2 separate regions of the Homo sapiens genome follow, and region 1 is linked to region 2. Evidence: promoter capture Hi-C in human tissues and cell types (Jung and others, 2019). All regions are on one chromosome and are shown on one strand. The core of a region is centred on a gene start or on the middle of the fragment in contact, and the rest is flanking DNA. Distances in the headings are between cores, read along the strand shown.

Region 1 (5,661 bases), core at 1,602-4,101, 800 kb before region 2:
CAATCTAGTTCCACATATCACATCCAATACCAACTATAAGAAACCACATACATTTAAAAGAAAAGAAAGACACTTCTGGAGGTGGGAATAACTTTCTAAGCAGTATAAGTCATCAAGAAAAATAAGCAGATTTGACTTGAAAATTTAAAACTTCCTGAACATCTGGAAAATAATTAAAGCATTCATGAAAAATTACTAAAAATACTGAGAAAAATACTAATAATCCAATACCTAAATAATCAAAGAATGCAAACATAATTCAGAAAAAAGTAACTACTGCTTGAGCCCGGGAGGCGGAGATTCCAGTGAGCTGATATTGCACCACTGCACTCCAGCCTGGGTGACAGAGTGAGACCGTGTCTCTTTTTTTTTTTTTTTTTAAAAAAAGGCCGGGCATGGTGGCTCACACCTGTAATCCCAGCACTTTGGGAGGCCAAGGCGGGCAGATCAGGAGGTCAGGAGATTGAGACCATCCTGGCTAACATGGTGAAACCGTCTCCACTAAAAATATAAAAAATTAGCCGGGTGTAGTGGTGGGCGCCTGTAGTCCCAGCTACTCGGGAGGCTGAGACAGGAGAATGGCGTGAACCCAGGAGGCAGAGGTTGCAGTGAGCCGAGATGGCACCACTGCACTCCAGCCTGGGCAACAGAGCAAGACTCCATCTCAAAAAAAAAAAAAAAAGTAACTACAATAAGCAAATACATAGCAAAAAGTTCAGCCTTACCAGCAATCAATGATGCTAATTAAAATAACAAGGAAGTGCCATTTTTTGCTTTTGTTCCCCAAATATATGATACCCAATACTGGCCAAGGCAATATGAAAACAGGCTTCCTCATACATTACTGGAAGCAGAATATAGTTATGTGCAAGCACTTTGGAAAATGATTCCCAGTGTTAAGGAAGAGACATTAAATAGCTGACACACTCTTAATTCTGTAGTCCCAGTTATGAGTCTCTATCATAAGTAGCCAGCTCTTCATTGCAGGATTATTGTAATCACCCACAGGGGAAATAGTAGAATTTCCAGCGGTAAAAAAATACACTAAGGCAGTACATTTAGTGTAGTGTAATGTAGCCATGATAACTACAATAACTGTGTAGCAACATAGAAAAATGTTAAATTTAAAAAGCAGAAGCCTGGGCAACAAAGTGAGACCCCATCTCTTTTTTTTTTTGAGATGGCGTCTCGCTCTGTCACCGAGGCTGGAGTGCAGTGTGAGACCACATCTCTACAAAAAATTTTAAAAATTAGCTGGGCATGGTAGTGATCACCTGTGGTCCCTGCTACACTGGAGGTTGAAGCAAGAGGATTGCTTGAGCCAGGAAGTCAAATCTGCAGTGAGCCATGTTTGTTTGTTCCGCTTCACTCCAGCCTGGGTAACAGAGTAAGACACTGTCTCAAAATAAAAATAAAATAGACAATACTACATACAATTTTGGGTTAAGCAGTGGTTTCTTTTACACCAAAAGCATAAACATTGGACTTTATTGAAATGAAAAACTTTTGGCCAGGCACATTGGCTCACACCTGTAATCTCAGCACTTTGGGAGGCCACAGTGGGGGATTGCAAGGGGAGATGGGAAATGTTCTAAAACTGGATTATGGTGATAGTTGGGCAACTGTGTAAATTTACTAAAAATTATTGAACTGTACATTTAAAAAGTGTGAGTCTTATGGTATGTAAATTATACCCCATAAAGTTGTTTTTAAAAATGAAGTAAGTCCCTCTGCTCAAGACCCAGTCATCTCATCTCATTCAAAGTGAAAGCCAGAGCTTTACAATCCCTATAAGAGCCTAGGTGGTAGCTCAACACTCTTACCTCCCTCACCCCATTTTCTGTATCTCTTTTCGTTGCCCATCTTCTAGCCACACCAGCCTCTGCTAATCCCCAAACAGGTACCCTCTGTGCTCTTGCTGTTCCCTTGGCCTAGAATGCTCTTCCTTAAGATGCAGGTAAGAATTCCTTCCTCACCTTCTTCAAGCTTTTATTTGAATATCACTTTCTTTTTTTGTTGGTTTTGTGTGTGTGTGTGGGGGGGGGGGGTTTGAGATGGAGTTTCCTTCTGTCGCCCAGGCTGGAGTGCAGTGGCATGATCTCGACTCACTGCAACCTCCGCCTCCGGGGGTCAAGCGATTTTCCTACCCCAGCCTCCTGAGTAGCTGGGATTACAGGCGCACGCCACCATGCCCAGCTAATTGTATTTTTTAGTAGAGACGGGATTTAACCATTTTGGCCAGGCTGGTCTCGAACTCCTGACCTTGTGATCCGCCCGCCTCGGCCTCCCAAAGTGCTGGAATTACAAGCGTGAGCCACCATGCCCGGCCTTTTGTTGTTGCTGTTGTTGTTCTGAGATGGAGCCTTGCCCTGTCGCCCAGGCTGGAGTGCAGTGGCCCGATCTCGGCTCACTGCAACCTCCACCTCCCAGGTTCAAGCGATTCTCCTGCCTCAGCCTCCCGAGTAGCTGGGATTAAGCTGGGATTATAGGCGTGCCCCACCACGCCCGGCTAGTTTTTGTATTTTTAGTAGAGACGGGGTTTCACTGTGTTGGCCAGGCTGGTCTCGAACTCCTGACCTCACGTGATCCGCCCTCCTCGGCCTCCCCAAGTGCTGAGATTACAGGCGTGAGCCACCGCGCCCGCCGCCCCCTGAATTTAGAGAATAGCGGAGCCTCCCCATTCTCTGCGGCCTTGGCTCCTACACTTCCCGTGGTAACCTTGTTCATCCGCTGAAGCCCGCTGCTTTTCCCAGCCCGGCCTCTGGGGGCCGCTGCCGGGCCTGTGAGCCTGTGGACCAGGAGCTCCTGCTGCCGTCGTAGCGTCACGTCCGGTCTCGGGCGGAAGTTTTCCGGCGGCTACCGGGAAGTCGCTGAAGACAGAGCGATGGTAGTTCTGGAGGCCTCGCTCCGGGGCCGACCCGAGGCCACAGTGCCTCCGCGGTAGACCGGACTTGGGTGACGGGCTCCGGGCTCCCGAGGTGAAGAGCATCGGGGGCTGAGGTGGGACCTTAGAAGGGAGTCTGGGAACCCTCACGGCTCTTATTGGAGTCCCTTCCCTGACCCTGGGCTCTAAACTGCCTTTGCTCAGGCTGTCCCGGAAGCAGGTCCTCCCCGTATCATACCATTCCTAGAGGGAACGGCGCAGGTTGGGACTTCCCTCCCTTTACCATCGTCACCAAGGCATGTGGTAACCCCGGGCCGGAGGTCAAGGGCGTCGCTTCTCCCTAATGTTGCCTCTTTTCCACGGCCTCAGGGATGGAAGGGTCTAAGACGTCCAACAACAGCACCATGCAGGTGAGCTTCGTGTGCCAGCGCTGCAGCCAGCCCCTGAAACTGGACACGAGTTTCAAGATCCTGGACCGTGTCACCATCCAGGAACTCACAGGTCAGCGAGACCCTTGGAAAGAGGGTGGTCAAGAATGTGGAAGGTGGGCAGCTTTGGTGATATAATTCTTATGGTGGCTGTGTAGTCTGCCACAAACTCATCGTGTGAACCTAGGAAAGTCACTTCATCTGGCTCCCTGTTTTCTCCTTGGAAACATAAAGCATTCTGACATTGTGGACTTCTGAGAGCTTTCCGACCGGGCGCGGTGGCTCACGCCTGTAATCCCAGCATTTTGGGAGACCGAGGCGGGCAGATCACCTGAGGTCAGGAGTTCGAGACCAGCCTGGCCAACATGGCGAAACCCCTCTCTACTAAAAATACAAAAATTAGCCGGGCGTGATGGCACGTGCCTGTAGTCCCAGCTACTCGGGAGGTTGAGGCAGGAGAATCGCTTGAACCGGTGAGGTGGAGTTTGCAGTGAGCTGAGATCGCACCACTGCACTCCAGCCTGGGCAACAGAGCGAGGCTCCGTCTCAAAAAAAGAGAGCTTTCAGTAGCAAAAGAAAGATCCTTATTTTCTGCTCCTGCTGTTTCAGAGAAAAGGAATATGTATATATAATAATAAATGGTATTTTTTGAGGACTTACTATATAGTAATACCAAGTGCATTACACGTATTACTTCATTTAGTCCCTGTAACAACCCGTACGGGGTATACCGTCATTACATCATTTTTCAGATGAAGAACCGAGGCACAGAGAGGTTAAGTGACTTACCTAAGGTCCAACAGCTGGTAAATGGAGTAGAGTCTTAAAGTCTGAAGAATTTGCTGGATGTGATGGCTCACGCCTGTAATCTCAGTGCTTTGGGAGGCTGAGGTGGGAGGATCGCTTGAGCCCAGGAGTTCAAGACCAACCTGAGCAACCTAGCAGAGATCTTGTCTCTAAAAAAAAAAAAAAATTGCTGGGTGTGGTGGGTGGTGGAGGCTGAGGCAGGAGGATCACTTGAGCCCAGGAGGTCAAAGCTGCAGGAAGCTATGATCATGCCACTGCACTGCAGCTTGGGCAACAGTGCAAGACCCTGTCTCAAAAAATAAATTAATTAAAAAGGCCAGGAGTGGTGGTTCACACCTGTGATCCCAGCACTATGGGAGGCTGAGGCAGGTGGATCACTTGAGCAGGAGTTTGAGACCAGCCTGGGCAACACAGTAAGACCCTGTCTCTATAATTAAAAAAAATAAAAAACCCCAAAATCCCGCAAAGTCAGAAGAATTCAGATTAAGTCAGACAGTAAAAGAGAAGACTGAATAGGCAGCTTAAATAAGCTTATGGGCCTGGAGTCAGCCTGCTTGGGTTTAAATCCTGGCTGTCATTTACTAGCTGAACAACTTTTTGCAAGTTACTTCATTTCTCCAAGCCTTGGTTTCTGATTTTTTCTGTAAAACGTTAAACTGCCTCATAAAGAATTTATAAAGTTCAAATATGACAAACCACAGAAACACTTAGGAATTTGCTGGGCAAATAGTATTCAATAAGTATTAGCTGCTATTATTACCTGGTTTCTCTTTCTTGAGGGGAAATTAGCTCTTTTTTTTGTTTGTTTGTTTGAGACGGAGTCTCACTCTGTTGCCAGGCTGGAGTGCAGTGGCGCGATCTCGGCTCACTGCAACCTCTGCCTCCCGGGTTCAAGTGATTGTCCTGCGTCAGCCTCCTGAGTAGCTGGGACTGCAGGCACACACCGCCACGCCCAGCTAATTTTTGTATTTTTAGTAGAGACGGTTTCACTATGTTGGCCAGGATGGTCTCGATCTCTTGACCTTGTGATCTGCCCGCCTCAGCCTCCCAAAGTGCTGGGACTACAGGCGTGAGCCACCGCGCCTCTTAAACTCTTTTAATAACAATTTTTGACTTTTTATTATGGAAAATTTGAGACATATATAGTCAAGAGAATAGCATAGCCTGCCTTGTATTCATCATCCAGCTTCAATAATCAGCCATATTCTCACATTCTTATGTTGTCTACACCTCCATTCACCTCCCATCCTCTGCTCAATTATTATGTTTTTCACACCTTTTTAGAAAGGTAAATTGTCATGACTTGAAATGTATGAATCTTAGCTGTACATTTTTGACAAATGGATACACTGATGTAATCTGGATCGTTGCAATTTAGCAATGTTTCATCTTCCTAGAAAGTTTCCTTATGTTCCCTCCTTGCTATTCTGGGGGAAACAGGATGTTTGCTTTTGTGATGGAAAATTTCAGAGTATATCATGAACTCCTGTGTACCCATCACCTAGTTGCAACAATTATCAACACATATTTAATCAAGTTTTG
Region 2 (5,498 bases), core at 931-3,430:
CCTGGCAGGACTGAAATGATTTGGGTTTAGGGGAACGAACATTAATTTCTTTCTTTTTTTGAGACGGAGTTTTGCTCTCGTTGCCCAGGCTGGAGTGCAATGGCGCAATCTCGGCTCACCGCAACCTCCACCTCCCGAGTTCAAGCGATTCTCCTGCCTCGGCCTCCCGAATAGCTGGGATTACAGGCATGTGCCACCACACCCGGCTAATTTTGTATTTTTAGTAGAGACAGGGTTTCTCCAAGTTCGTTAGGCTGGTCTCGAACTCCCGACCTGAGGTGATCCACCCGCCTCAGCCTCCCAAAGTGCTCGGATTACAGGCGTGATCCACCGCACCCGGCCAATGGACATTAATTTTATGCTAATTCCATGCTAAGCACAAGTGTGACATGACAGCTTCTCTTTCCTATCTTGGACATAGGGCTTTCTCCCTCCGTATTTGTTCAGTGTTGTAGAGTTGATCTGTTACAATGTAAGTTTTATTCTTCCAGGGGGGAAAACCACCAGGAGCAGCTTTTAGCCTGTGTGTGTTGTGATCAAGTCCTATTCCTTATTTTTCAACTTCTTCCACTGTTCCTCCCCCTCCAACAACACTCACCCACTACATGGTTCCCATACAGAAGCTGCTCCAGGATTGAAGTTTTGCCCACAGACGCCTGGCCACACACGACCACCTTGCAGCTCTTCCCCATGCTTAGTTTTCAACCTTGAAGAACAGAAGCACGCTGGGTAAGGTGAGGAAAGAAAGCATCAACACAGAAGGCAGTTACTAGCAGATGTTTTCTGGTGGACAAAAACAAAAACCAAAAAAACAGAAGGCAGAACGTCCATAACTGAGAGTTCTAAACTGAATGTATAGTTCTAAACTGAATGTATAGTTCCAGGGTTTCAGCACCATCCCAATGCTAGTCAGAGGAAACGGATGTCTCCATGTCTACTACTGGATGGTAAGCTGTTATTTTATTCGTCTTTGTTATCCCCAGTACCTAGCCAGTATCTGTCACAGGGCAGGTGCTTGGAAATGCTGCCATAAAGGGAGAGGAGAGTCACTGGCCACTGGGCCAGGTTCCCTTCTGTGCGCAAGATGTAGAGGACCAATTAGTAAAGGGAGCTCAGCCCAGCTTCCTCTCTTTAACCATGACCCCATGGAGAATTAAGCAGGAACAGTGTTTTGTGTGGCTGTCTGAAGCCATCTGCTCCCTGGGGGGACTGAGCAAATAAAAAGGATAATCTGGGGCAGGGCACGGTGGCTCACGCCTGTAATCTCAGCACTTCGGGAGGCCGAGGTGGGCAGATCACAAAGTCAGGAGTTCGAGACCAGACTGGCCAACATAGTGAAACCTCATCTCTACTAAACATACAAAAAATTAGTCAGGCGTGGTGGCGGGTGCCTGTAATCCCAGCTACTTGAGAGGCTGAGGCAGGAGAATCGCTTGAATCCAGGAGGCGGAGATTGCAGTGAGCCAAGAATATGCCACTGCACTCCAGCCTGGGCGGCAGAGCAAGACTCCGTCTCAAAAAAAGACAATCTGCTTTCCTGTACGACTCATCTGGACAACAATCAATTCCCTCTAAACTCCAGTCAAGTCTATGGCTAAAATGAACATAAGACAAGAGAGAAAAGAATGAAGAAACCTACGGAAAAAAAGGCTTCAGAAAGGACATACTTTTTGCTGCCCTTGGACTGACAGACACAAAAGAGAAAGCTCAGATACAGAAACCCTAAGAGGTCCCAGACAGATATCTCCCCGAAGGCAAACTTCCAAACACAAGCCCCCCAAAAGCTCCAGACAAAGATCCCCCCCAGAGAGCAGAGATAGATCACTCCCAAAGACGGTCCCTAACAGAAACCTCTCCAGGGGAAGCTCCTGACACAGACCCCCTCTCCATATAGCGAGCCCCACAATAAAGGACACCATAAGAGTGGGCCAGAGGTGCCTCCGCCACAGATTTTCTCACGGGGGAGCCCCCAGAGGGAATGAGAGGCAGAGACCAGCCACCTAAAGCGGCCCGGAGGCGGAGGCCGATCCTAGCGCCGGACGAGCCTCGCCTCCCAGGTCCGTACCTCCCGGGGCCCCCGCAGCACCAGCCGGGCCCTCCGAGCTCGCGGGGACCAGGGGAGGGGCAGCGCCGCCGCAAAGGCTCCAGTCTTCCTCCAGAGTCGGTGTAGGCTCCTCCAGGCCCCGCCCCCGCCGCCTGCCCGCTCCCCAGCTTCCGTCAGGCAAGACGAATTCCGGCAGCGGAGAGAGAGCGCGGACCGCGCAGCTCCCCCAGAGGCCGGCGGGAGAATGACGGCCAGGACCTGGCCTGGGTGTGCGCGGGAGCCCAAGGTTCTAGACTCCCTGGACGCGGGCCGCTGGGTGTTCTGGTGTCTCTGAGGCCCAGATGTTCTCTCTGTAAAGGCGATCAGAGTACAGTAACTCTTCGTTTACTCAATCATTTATTCGTCAAATGTTTTCTGAGCATCATCTGTCTGTGCCTGGTGCAGGGCCATATACTGAGAGAAAGTGGACGAGTTAGACATGGTGGCTGCCCATCAGAACTCACGGTCTAGAGAAGCTAGATGTCTAACAACTACTGAGGTGCTGTGGAGCACAGCAAAAGGGCATTTAACGTTGAGTCAGCAGACACTGAAGGGCCTGGGGGAAAGGGTGTTCTAGGGTGGAGGAAACGGCTACAAGTCATGGCATTTTCTGAAACTATGAGAACTTGGGTTCAATATTGGTGGTAGAAAGGACCTAAATATTGGTACTCAAATTAAATTATTTAAAAAAAGAAACAGATAATCAAAGGCTTTGTGTGGTAGGCCAAAGAGATCAAATTGACGGCAATGGAAAGCCATTGCCAATGAAGAGACATGATCAGTCCCTGAGGAAGGTCACTCTGGCAGAAGAGGGAAGACTGAACAGAGATGAAATTAGAGACCGATTAGGAGACTATTGATGTATTCCAAGTTTTTTTTTCTGTTGTTTTGTTGTTGTTGTTGTTGCCGTTTTTGAGACAGGGTCTTGCTCTTTTCTCCATGCTGGAGTACATTGGTGTGATCATAGCTCACTGCAGCCTCTAACTCCTGGGCTCAAGTGATCCTCCTGCCTCAGCCTCCCAAATAGCTGGGACTACAGATGCATGCCACCACACCCAGCCTATTCCAAGATTTTAAAAAATGATGAGCGCCTGAATCGGGATGGAAAGGTGGAGATAGATTTGGGAAATATTTGGTAGGAGAATCAACAAAACTTGGCAACAAATTGGAAGCCAAGAGTGAGAATGGTTTAATCCATTTAACAAGATACGGAATTTAGGAAAGATAATAATTACATCCAACATTTGTTTTTTCTGTTGTTGAGGTGTGGGTAGACAATGAAAAAGTTAAATTTAAATATGGTAAGCCTTGGGGATTTGTGAAACATACAAGAGATATCCAGTAGATAGTTGGATATACAGCTGTGGAAGCTGAAGAAAGGTCTAGGTTGGAGATATGAAAAGTTGAGAGTCATCAACAGATGGAAGTAAAGCTGTGGGAATAAATGAGTTGCCTTAGATAGAACATAAAGTGGGAAGATGGTGAGACAGGTTGGCTAGCATTAGACTGGACTATGAGCCACTGGCAGGCAGGGCAGGTGGTCTGTAAGTCTTGTGCCCTCACAACCTAGCACAGAGTAGGCGTTTTGGAAAGGGCTGAGTGATTGGCTCAACGAATGACCCCTCCTTTCCAACCTAGTGAGCTTGTCCTATCCCTCCCTACTCAGTGGTCGCTGTGGTTTCAGCTCCCTCCACACTGGGATAGGCAGAGTATGAGCATTGGCACATGCTGTTTTCCTGGAACAAACAGGTAAATCCTTTTAAAATTCCTTTGCCCTCTTCTTATTTTACTCTTAGCTTTACATTGTAAAGCTACTCCTCATACTCCTCCAATTTAACCCCAGAAAGCTCCAATTTAATTCAGCTCCACAAATAGTCGTTTGGGTGAGGGAATAACAACAAAGACAGTTAAACTGTGCCCTTGTCCCCTATGAATTCTCAATCCAGACCGCATTCGGCAAGGCAAGCGTGATGAGTAGAGAGTTTATATAAGAGGTGGGAGTACTGGGGACACAAGAGCAAGGACCTCACCCCGCGAGCTTCCTTATAAACTCCAGGGCAGGGTCTGGGGCGCCATGTGTCAGCTTTCCTAGGCTTAATGCTGAGATGGCACTCCCAGGCGGCTGACATGAAAGGAGCCTTGTAAAAGGGTCAGCGTCATTAGGGTGATGAACCAGTTGGTGTTTGGAGATCCGGAGTGGATGAAAGGCGCAGGGTGAAGACGCCCTGCGTTCCCCTGGCTTGACTGGGCAGGGCTTCCAGAGAACGATGAAAGCTGGGGGAACTGAGCTCAAAGTGTCTCTTGACTTTCCCGGGAAGAAGCTGTGGACACACTCCAAGGTCGGAAAGGTAGCAGTGGGGACTCCTTCCCTACAGAGTCTTGGGTCACCTGGTCCCCACGCAACCCAGACTCCACGGAGCCTTTCAGGAAGACTCTCTAGGATTGGAAGTTGCTATGGCAATGAGGCTCTTGGAATACTGAAAGCAGCCAAGCCCTAGAGAGGCTACCACCGGTACACCCCGCCTTCCCACCCACGGGTAAAGTGGCGCCGCCTACGCACCGGCACAGCCCCTGGGCTCCCGCCCCGGCGCGGAGACCACCGTGGACATCCGGGGGCGGGAGGCCGCTCTGGCCCCAAGCGGAGCCTCTCTCTGGTAGACGAGCCCGAGGGAGCCCTTCTGGGCGCGGCGCCGCGGAGCTGCTCTATGCTCCAACCGGAAGTGCTCTTCACCGCCGGCCTCCCACCCAGCTCTCTGGTCCCGGCGGTAAGATGGCGGCTGCCGCGGAGTGCGATGTGGTAATGGCGGCGACCGAGCCGGAGCTGCTCGACGACCAAGAGGCGAAGAGGTAACCGGGTAGCAGGGTAGTAGAGGAGGCGACCTGCAGCTCCGTGGCTCAGGGAAACTCGTTCCTGCCATGATGCAGCCCCCAGCTGTTGAGGCGATGCCCCGCCCTCCGCAAACACCCCCCCATCTGAGATCAAGGCCGGATGGACCCCCTGAAGGGGCGCTCTTGGGGGTCGGCCTTCCTCTCCCGCTTCCGCCTGGCGTAGGAGCTGAGGCATGGCCTTGTTCTCCAGCTGAGAGGACGATCGTCCTTATAGGAGAGGCCGAGTCTCCGAGGGCAATTTCAGAGGTCTGGTGCGAGGTGGGGGAAGCGGCGCGGCGTCGATGACGACTTCCTTACATCGCCCCCGACCCCCGCGTTCTCTTGTTAACTTCTGTGCATTGTTGCCTGTCTGCACTTTCCGTCTCCAAAACCTTTGCTCTCCTCACCCCGTTTTCCCTTGTAATTATACCCCAGCGATCACTAGTCTGGGTTCGAAGTGATTGTGTGTCTCCATAATTGACCTGGTTGCCCCCGGTTATCCCAGAAGTCAAAGATGACAGAGAAAAAAAGGAAGAGCGAGGGGCTT

Evidence for each region. The method cuts DNA at HindIII sites, captures the fragments that hold promoters and counts their contacts. A contact is called where the count stands out against the background at its distance.
Region 1: the fragment with the promoter of BECN1 here is called in contact with the fragment with the promoter of NKIRAS2 in region 2 in 1 of the 25 tissues and cell types used here (heart right ventricle).

Annotation. Positions count from the first base shown.
Region 1 is chr17:42,821,472-42,827,132 of GRCh38, reverse strand. It overlaps BECN1 (beclin 1), which reads left to right and starts at 2,851. Exons shown (of 12, transcript NM_001313998.2): 1 at 2,851-2,978; 2 at 3,254-3,385. The coding sequence starts at 3,256. MIR6781 (microRNA 6781) reads left to right here and starts at 3,190; the gene lies at 3,190-3,253. RefSeq lists enhancers at 1,922-2,488, 2,493-2,622, 2,489-3,057, 3,058-3,624. The HindIII fragment of the contact is 8,869 bases long and covers 1-5,661 here.
Region 2 is chr17:42,016,772-42,022,269 of GRCh38, reverse strand. NKIRAS2 (NFKB inhibitor interacting Ras like 2) reads right to left here and starts at 2,180. Exons shown (of 4, transcript NM_017595.6): 1 at 2,066-2,180; 2 at 599-706. The coding sequence starts at 692. It overlaps DNAJC7 (DnaJ heat shock protein family (Hsp40) member C7), which reads left to right and starts at 4,831. Exons shown (of 14, transcript NM_003315.4): 1 at 4,831-4,930. The coding sequence starts at 4,854. RefSeq lists silencers at 1,887-2,296, 4,523-4,672 and enhancers at 4,783-5,192, 5,263-5,312, 4,423-5,498. The HindIII fragment of the contact is 10,906 bases long and covers 1-5,498 here.